Linked DNA regions of Homo sapiens: region 1 is linked to region 2. Evidence: promoter capture Hi-C in human tissues and cell types (Jung and others, 2019). All regions are on one chromosome and are shown on one strand. The core of a region is centred on a gene start or on the middle of the fragment in contact, and the rest is flanking DNA. Distances in the headings are between cores, read along the strand shown.

Region 1 (3,353 bases), core at 653-3,152, 1.1 Mb before region 2:
GTACTCTACTTCAGTTTCCACATCAGAAATTGGGACCCTGGGCTGGGTGCGGTGGCTCACGCCTGTAATCCCAGCACTTTGGGAGGCCGAGGCGGGTGGATCATGAGGTTAGGAGTTTGAGACCAGCCTAGCCGACATGGTGAAACCCCATCTTTACTAAAAATACAAAAATTAGCTGGGTGTGGTGGTGTGTGCCTGTAGTCCCAGCTACTTGGGAGGCTGAGGCAGGAGAATTGCTTGAACCCTGAAGGCAGAAGTTGCAGTGAGCTGAGATTGTGCCACTGAACTCCAGCCTGGTGACAGATCGAGACTCCATCTAAAAAAAAAAAAAAAAAAAGAAGAAGAAGAAGAAAAGAAAAGAAATTGGGACCCTATTTTCCACTAAGACCAAAGTAATGAGAATTTCATCCTGAGTAAGAAGGATATTCTGGCTGGGTACAGTGGCTCACACTTGTAATACCAACACTTTGGGAGGCCAAGGTGGGCAGGTCACTTGAGCTCAGGAGTTCAAGACCAGCCTGGGCAACATGGTGAAATCCTGTCTCTACAATTTTTTTTTTTTTAATTAGCTAGGTGTGGTGGCATGCATCTGTGGTCCCAGGTACTCTGGAGGCAGAGGTGGGAGGATCACTTGAACCTGAGAGGTCGAGACTGCAGTGAGCTGTGATCATGCCACTGCACTCCAGCAGCACAACACACACACACACACAAACACACACACACACACACACGCACAAAGGAAAACAAACAAAAAAAGAAGGATATTCCAACCTTGGGTAGTCCCTTGTCCCCACAAAAATGACACACTAATACTACAGTAGTATTCTCACATGTATTATCTCCAGCATTTATAGCAATCCTTAAATTTGCTATGACTTTGTCACTTTAGAAATTAAATTAATCAAGGCTCAAAGAGATAAAGCAACTTGTATAAAGTTACACAAGCATGCAGGTGACAGAGCAGCAACTAAACCCATCAAGTTTCGATTCCCAACAAGCATTCTAAGCCAGAACGAATTCCTAACTCTTGTTATTTTCCACTATGACACACCTTTTTATTCACTGAAAGTAGTAATAAAAACACAAAACAGGCCGGGCGCGGTGGCTCACGCCTGTAATCCCAGCACTTTGGGAGACCGAGGCGGGCGGATCACCTGAGGTTAGGAGTTCAAGATCAGCCTGTTCAACATGGCGAAACCCTGTCTCTACTAAAAATACAAAAAAATTAGCCAGGCATGGTGGCGGGCACCTGTAATCCCAGCTACTCGGGAGGCTGAGGCAGGAGAATCACTTGAACCCAGGAGGCGGAGGTAGATCCCGCCACTGCACTCCAGCCTGGCGACAGAGCGAGACTCCGTCTCAAACAAAACCAAACAAAACACAAAACAAAAACCACAATGTTAACAACAGCAAACTTTTTCCTCCAAGAAAGCATGTTGTACCTATTGAAAGAATTTTCCGAAAGGAGGTATTATATAAGAACATTCCAGAAGGTGACAGACAATGTCCTCACCAAGAATTCCACAATGAACATAGAGGAGAGGTCCATTCAGTTGATTCTTGGGGCAGTAAAGCCTTCTATCTAAGCACACAGGGACTGAAGCTTCTGCTGTTTGAGCTGTGATGATCCCGAGGAAGTCCTTTAACCTCCTTGAGCTTCATCTTACTTGTCTAATAATAGAGCCATCTCCTTCATCATGATGCTGGAAAAATAAGATGCATATAAAGGACTCAGGGGGTGCAGTGTCTGACATACATTAAATGCTCAAGAAAGGTTGGCTATTATTATCCTTGGGTGACCTTTGATAAAATGTGGAGGCAGTCCACAGAGAAGCACGTCAGCTGAGGTTCTGAGGGAGGCTATAGTGATGAGGTCGAAGCCTTACATGGGTCCAAGTGGATCCTGTTCCTCTACTGGAGTTAACTCCTAGGCTGAGTTTTATTGTTTTTCCCAGAGAAAATAACATCTACCTTCCCTAATTCACAGTCATTAAGTGAGTAAAAGAAGATAATGTATTTGCCAAAAAAAAAAAAAAAAAAAAAAAAAAAGCACTGGGAAAAAAAGTTAAATGCCATCAAGTTGTAAGGTATTGTTGTCCTTGTGGTTGTTATTATTTCTGGAAAGCTTTTACTCTGGTAAATAATAAGACTTACTCTTGAAAGCCCTTTAAGTACATAGGGCCTAAATATGTGACCTAAAGGGAAAAAAAATGATTTCAGGGATTTAAATCAGTCTGGCAAAAGGAAGGTTGAACAGGGTGATTTAATTACTTTTTGTAACTGAATATTGCCTCCACATGGAGGGTGGTGACCAAATCGTCTGGTTTCTACCAAGGTCTAAAGAATAGGAAATTAATTTTTGGTGCAAGTGGAGAAGATTAAGTTAACACTGAGAATCACCTCCAGACATTCGGTTGGAAGGATTAAAGATGCCATATGTAAATGCTATCCATGTAACATTAGGGGCTTTCCAGAATGAGAAGTCAAGGTGGATGCTTGAACCAAAAAAAAGAGCCAGTGGTTTATAAAATAAGATGATAAATTGTATTCTAAAGGGAAGCTGGGATGGGCCATGAGCTCTCTAAAATGGAAGCTTGGAGCCAAGCAGCTGATAGGAAGTAGTCCCAGCAAATCCATGATTATTATTATTATTTTTGAGATGGAGTCTCGCTCTGTTGCCCAGGCTGGAGTGCAGTGGTATGATCTCGGTTCACTGCAACTTCCGCCTCCCGGGTTCAAGCGATTCTCCTGCCTCAGCCTCCCAAGTAGCTGGGACTACAGGCATGCGCCACCAAGCCCGGCTAGTTTTTGTATTTTTAGTAGAGACGGGGTTTCACCATCTTGGCCAGGCTTGTCTCGAACTCCTGACCTCGTGATCCACCCACCTTGGTCTCCCAAAGTGCTGGGATTACAGGCATGAGCCACCACGCCCAGCCAAATCCATGATTATTAAAATGCCATCCTATTCCCACTGGGAGGGAGGTAGAAGGGGATGGGGTGAGAGAGAATAGCATAAACCAATTCAGTTTTGAGTCAAAGAATCACTGACAGTTTTCAGGTAAGCTCCCTGTTGAAGACAGGGTGTTCCCAGAATAGAGTTTAAGATTAGGCTACATGAGGAGGTCAAGTCTGTATTGCAGTGAGAATTAGAGAGATGCAGTTGAGAGCATGACAAAAGTTTGAGCTGGGTTTCCTGCTCGTCCTAACAGAGGCAAAACTGGAAGACAGAGTGACAGAATATTGTTGGAGAAGGTTCCAGAACTGTGCTGACTCGGATCAGCATTAATTCATGCTAAGTGAATTAGTGAAACCCTGTCTCTACTAAAAATACAAAAATTAGTTGGACTTGGTGG
Region 2 (3,323 bases), core at 116-2,615:
TAGCCATCCAAACACAAGTGTCCCAAACACTCCCAGACAAGCCTCCCAGGATGCTCTCGGGGCCCTCCATACACACTAAGGAGTAGGAGGTCTCTTTACAGGGTCTCTCTACTCAAGACACTAAGTCCAGTCTGGAACTGTCACCGTGATGTGACCCTTGGCAGGTTTGTTCTTTTGGTGACAAATCTGTTTTCCACTACCCATTCTCCCCCTCCCCACACACATTCAAGGGGGAAAAAAATAGCCTTCCTGTGAATTTTCACAGCTATGTGGTGAGTGACCCCTCGCACCTTCTGCTGGCTATCAACACTCTCAAACACAGTGCCTCCAGGGCGTGGGTCAATGCCACAGCTTTCTCCTCATTTTCCCCCTTAAATCCACCCAAACTTGGCAGTCCCAGAAGCTCGGTTAGCGCTTGCCTGGGAAGCCTGCAGCTGGGTTGGGTCTCAGTGAAAAGAATGAATTTCATAGGCGCAGGAGATGATGCAGACTCGGAGTACTCCAAGTTTCTCCTGCAACTTTCCGTGCACATGGCGGGCAACTTTTTTTTTTTTTTTTAACTATTCAATTTCCCAGCACTTTAGTTAGCATTCCAAGTTTTGGGAACCCTTTCCCCACCCTTCTCTTCTAGCCCTTCCTCCGTTAGTAGTGAATGGGGACATTTTCCAGATGTCAAAAGGACCGGTAGGAACCTCACGACCTAAGTTAGGAAAGCAAAGGCGGCCAGGGGCTCCCTCAGCCACTGTGAGTTTCCTCTGCAGGGCATCTTCCCCTCTCAGCTATGCCAGCGCCCCCGCCCAAGGACATCGAGTTTCTCCACTCCGCCCCAACCCCGTCTGCCCCTCTCCTGGGGCAGAGGAAAGGAGTGGGGCTCGCCCTGCCTCCCTAAGCAGCGCTGCAGTCCTGGCTGCAGCGTGGGGCTCGGGCGGGGCACCAGGAGCGCTTACCGATGTCGGAGTTGCAGAAGGCGTCCTGGGGGTGGCTGGGCGAGCATGTGCACGCCTCGGCGCCCCAGTCCCCCAGGCTCCAGCTGCCCAGGAGCACGATGAGCCCGAGCCAAGGGGTCATTGCCGCTGCTGCCGCCGCTGCCGGGGCTGCTGCTCGCCTCTCCAAAGTTGCCGTGCGCGCCGCCGGCGGGGCTGCTGCAGCCCGAGCTCGCTCGCCCGCCGGGCCGTGCGGGGCAACCTTGGCCTCCGGCGCGCTGCCCTCCGAGTGCCCGGCGGGACGGGATGGGGCGCAGCGAGGCTGCCTCGGCGCTGGCGCAGGACTCGGCGGGCGGCCTCCCGGCGAAGGAGCAGGAGCTGGAGGAGCAAGAGGAGGAGGAGAAGCCGTCTGAGCGCCCGCCGCCTGCCTGCTGCCCGCTCTGCGCCGCTGCCTGGGCGGCCGAGTGATATAGCGCTGGGCCCCCGGGGACCCCGCCTCGGGCTGTTGGGGCCCGCCCCCTCAGACCAATGGCAGAGCCGCATTACCTCATCGGCCCTCCAAAAAGGGGGCGGGGCCGGGGGCAAGGGGTAACGGGGCGGGGCCGCCCCCGGATCGTTCAGATCCTTATAGGGAATAATGCCGCCGTGGGCACGCGAGTGGGTGGGCTGGGGCGCGCCCGGGACCGGTGCTTGCCGCTGGGTCCTCGGAGCGGAGCCCTCGTGCCCCTTCTCGTCTGCGCCCTGGCCCCACGCCCACCTGGGCCACTGGGTGTCTCTGACCCAAACCAGAACCAACTAACACCCACCCACCCCAGCAGGACCGCTTCCACAGGTGAGGGGTGGCCATGTCCTAGAGACCTTGACTGTGCTTGGTGGAACCAGCGGGGGAATGCTAACTGCTACCCCTCCAGTTTCTCTGGAGAGAGCAGGCACAGAGGAGAAAGACCCAAACTCTCTCTCTTTCTCTCTCTCTCTGGTTCTTACTCTCTGGGATATGGGAAGCCATCTGCTGTTTGCAGCTGGCTATGATATATGATAGAAGACTGTTTTCTGTGCTCTCCCAGAGCAAACGGGGTTCTGTATTCATTCAACAAACACGGTTCAGGATGCTGGGTTAAGCAACACAAAGCCCTTGCCCCCGTGGACATCCATGAATGCACAGGGTGATTTTCTGTGATGCTAGGGCTATGAAGAAAACAAAACAGAGTTCTGGGTTGGACATGACTGGGGAGGGCCTGCTCTCTCTGCGATAGTAAGGGAAGGGCTCCCTGAAGTGCCATCCTCGCTGAGAAGTGGACAAAGACAAGGATCAGCTCTGGGGCAAGCCACAGGAGAGAGGTACCAGGCAGGGGGAACAGCAAGTGCAAAGACCCTGGGCATGTTTGAAAGACAGAAAGTAGAAAGGCAAGAGGAAGTGGTTCCCTGCCCATGGCTGACAGAGCTCCACCCTTCAGCAAGGGATTTGGGGGTGAGCTGATCCAAAACTGTAGTAAAACCAGGAGAACGATCCAGGATCCTAGACGACTAGCTATAATAGATGATTGCAGATAACTAACACAATTACTATCCTTATTATTGACATCTTGATTCTGCTTTGTATTTTTAAAAGCAGGATTCTGTATCTCACCGTATTATAGCTCTCACAATAATCTTTGTGGGTAGGAAAAGCAAGCACAAGTATCACTCCCACTTTCCAGATGAGGAACCGGCACAGAAAGATGGGATGATTGGTGGCCAGCCAGGAACTCGTCACCCCTTTCCACTGCTCCTTCCCATCTGAAGAGAGACATGCATTTCCCTGAACGTCAGCAGCTGTTCCATCTAACTGCAAATGGCCATTTGCAGCTGGGATCTTCCATCTTTCTACACTTTTGTCTCTTTCCCTTTCTCTTCCGCTTCATCCTGTTAGAAATGCCACAAGTTTGGAACAAATAGAAACAGGGAGAAATGCAAGTTCAGCTTCTTTCTCAGAACTCCTCTGTTTACATCTCAGACAAGTGACATTGGGACAGCAGAGGCCGAAGAATTCGTGAGAGATGGTATTTCCAAGAACATTTTTGAAACTCCTTTTTCCCCTTTGAGCACTTTAGCCATAGGAAAGGGAAACCAGTTTCCACATCTTTTTGACTTGTCCCCTCCACCCAGCTTTAAAAACCTTCCCTGCCTTCACTCTAACTGTGGCCTAACTCGTAGAGATGTTTCTGTCTCTCGATGTTTTTCTAGCACTGTTTTCATTGTTTTATGGGGTATGATTCTATTGCTTCCCCAACCACAGTAGGAATACTTTGAGGCCTGGGATATTTAGCCACACTGCTTTTTAGCCCTCTCAGAACCAAATAGGGTCTCAGGAGACTGGAGAGCATGGGTGTGGCCAACAGCTGACTGAGTCCTGAGCAGAGT

The links. The method cuts DNA at HindIII sites, captures the fragments that hold promoters and counts their contacts. A contact is called where the count stands out against the background at its distance.
Region 1: a contact is called between a fragment that was not itself captured here and the fragment with the promoter of TIMP3 in region 2, in 1 of the 25 tissues and cell types used here (dorsolateral prefrontal cortex).

What each region holds. Positions count from the first base shown.
Region 1 is chr22:33,935,066-33,938,418 of GRCh38, reverse strand. No RefSeq gene overlaps it. Among named protein-coding and RNA genes, the nearest start is that of LARGE1-AS1, 16 kb to the right of the region's middle. The HindIII fragment of the contact is 3,756 bases long and covers 25-3,353 here.
Region 2 is chr22:32,799,747-32,803,069 of GRCh38, reverse strand. It overlaps TIMP3 (TIMP metallopeptidase inhibitor 3), which reads right to left and starts at 1,365. Exons shown (of 5, transcript NM_000362.5): 1 at 948-1,365. The coding sequence starts at 1,068. The region is part of intron 6 of SYN3 (synapsin III); the gene reads left to right. The HindIII fragment of the contact is 19,598 bases long and covers 1-3,323 here.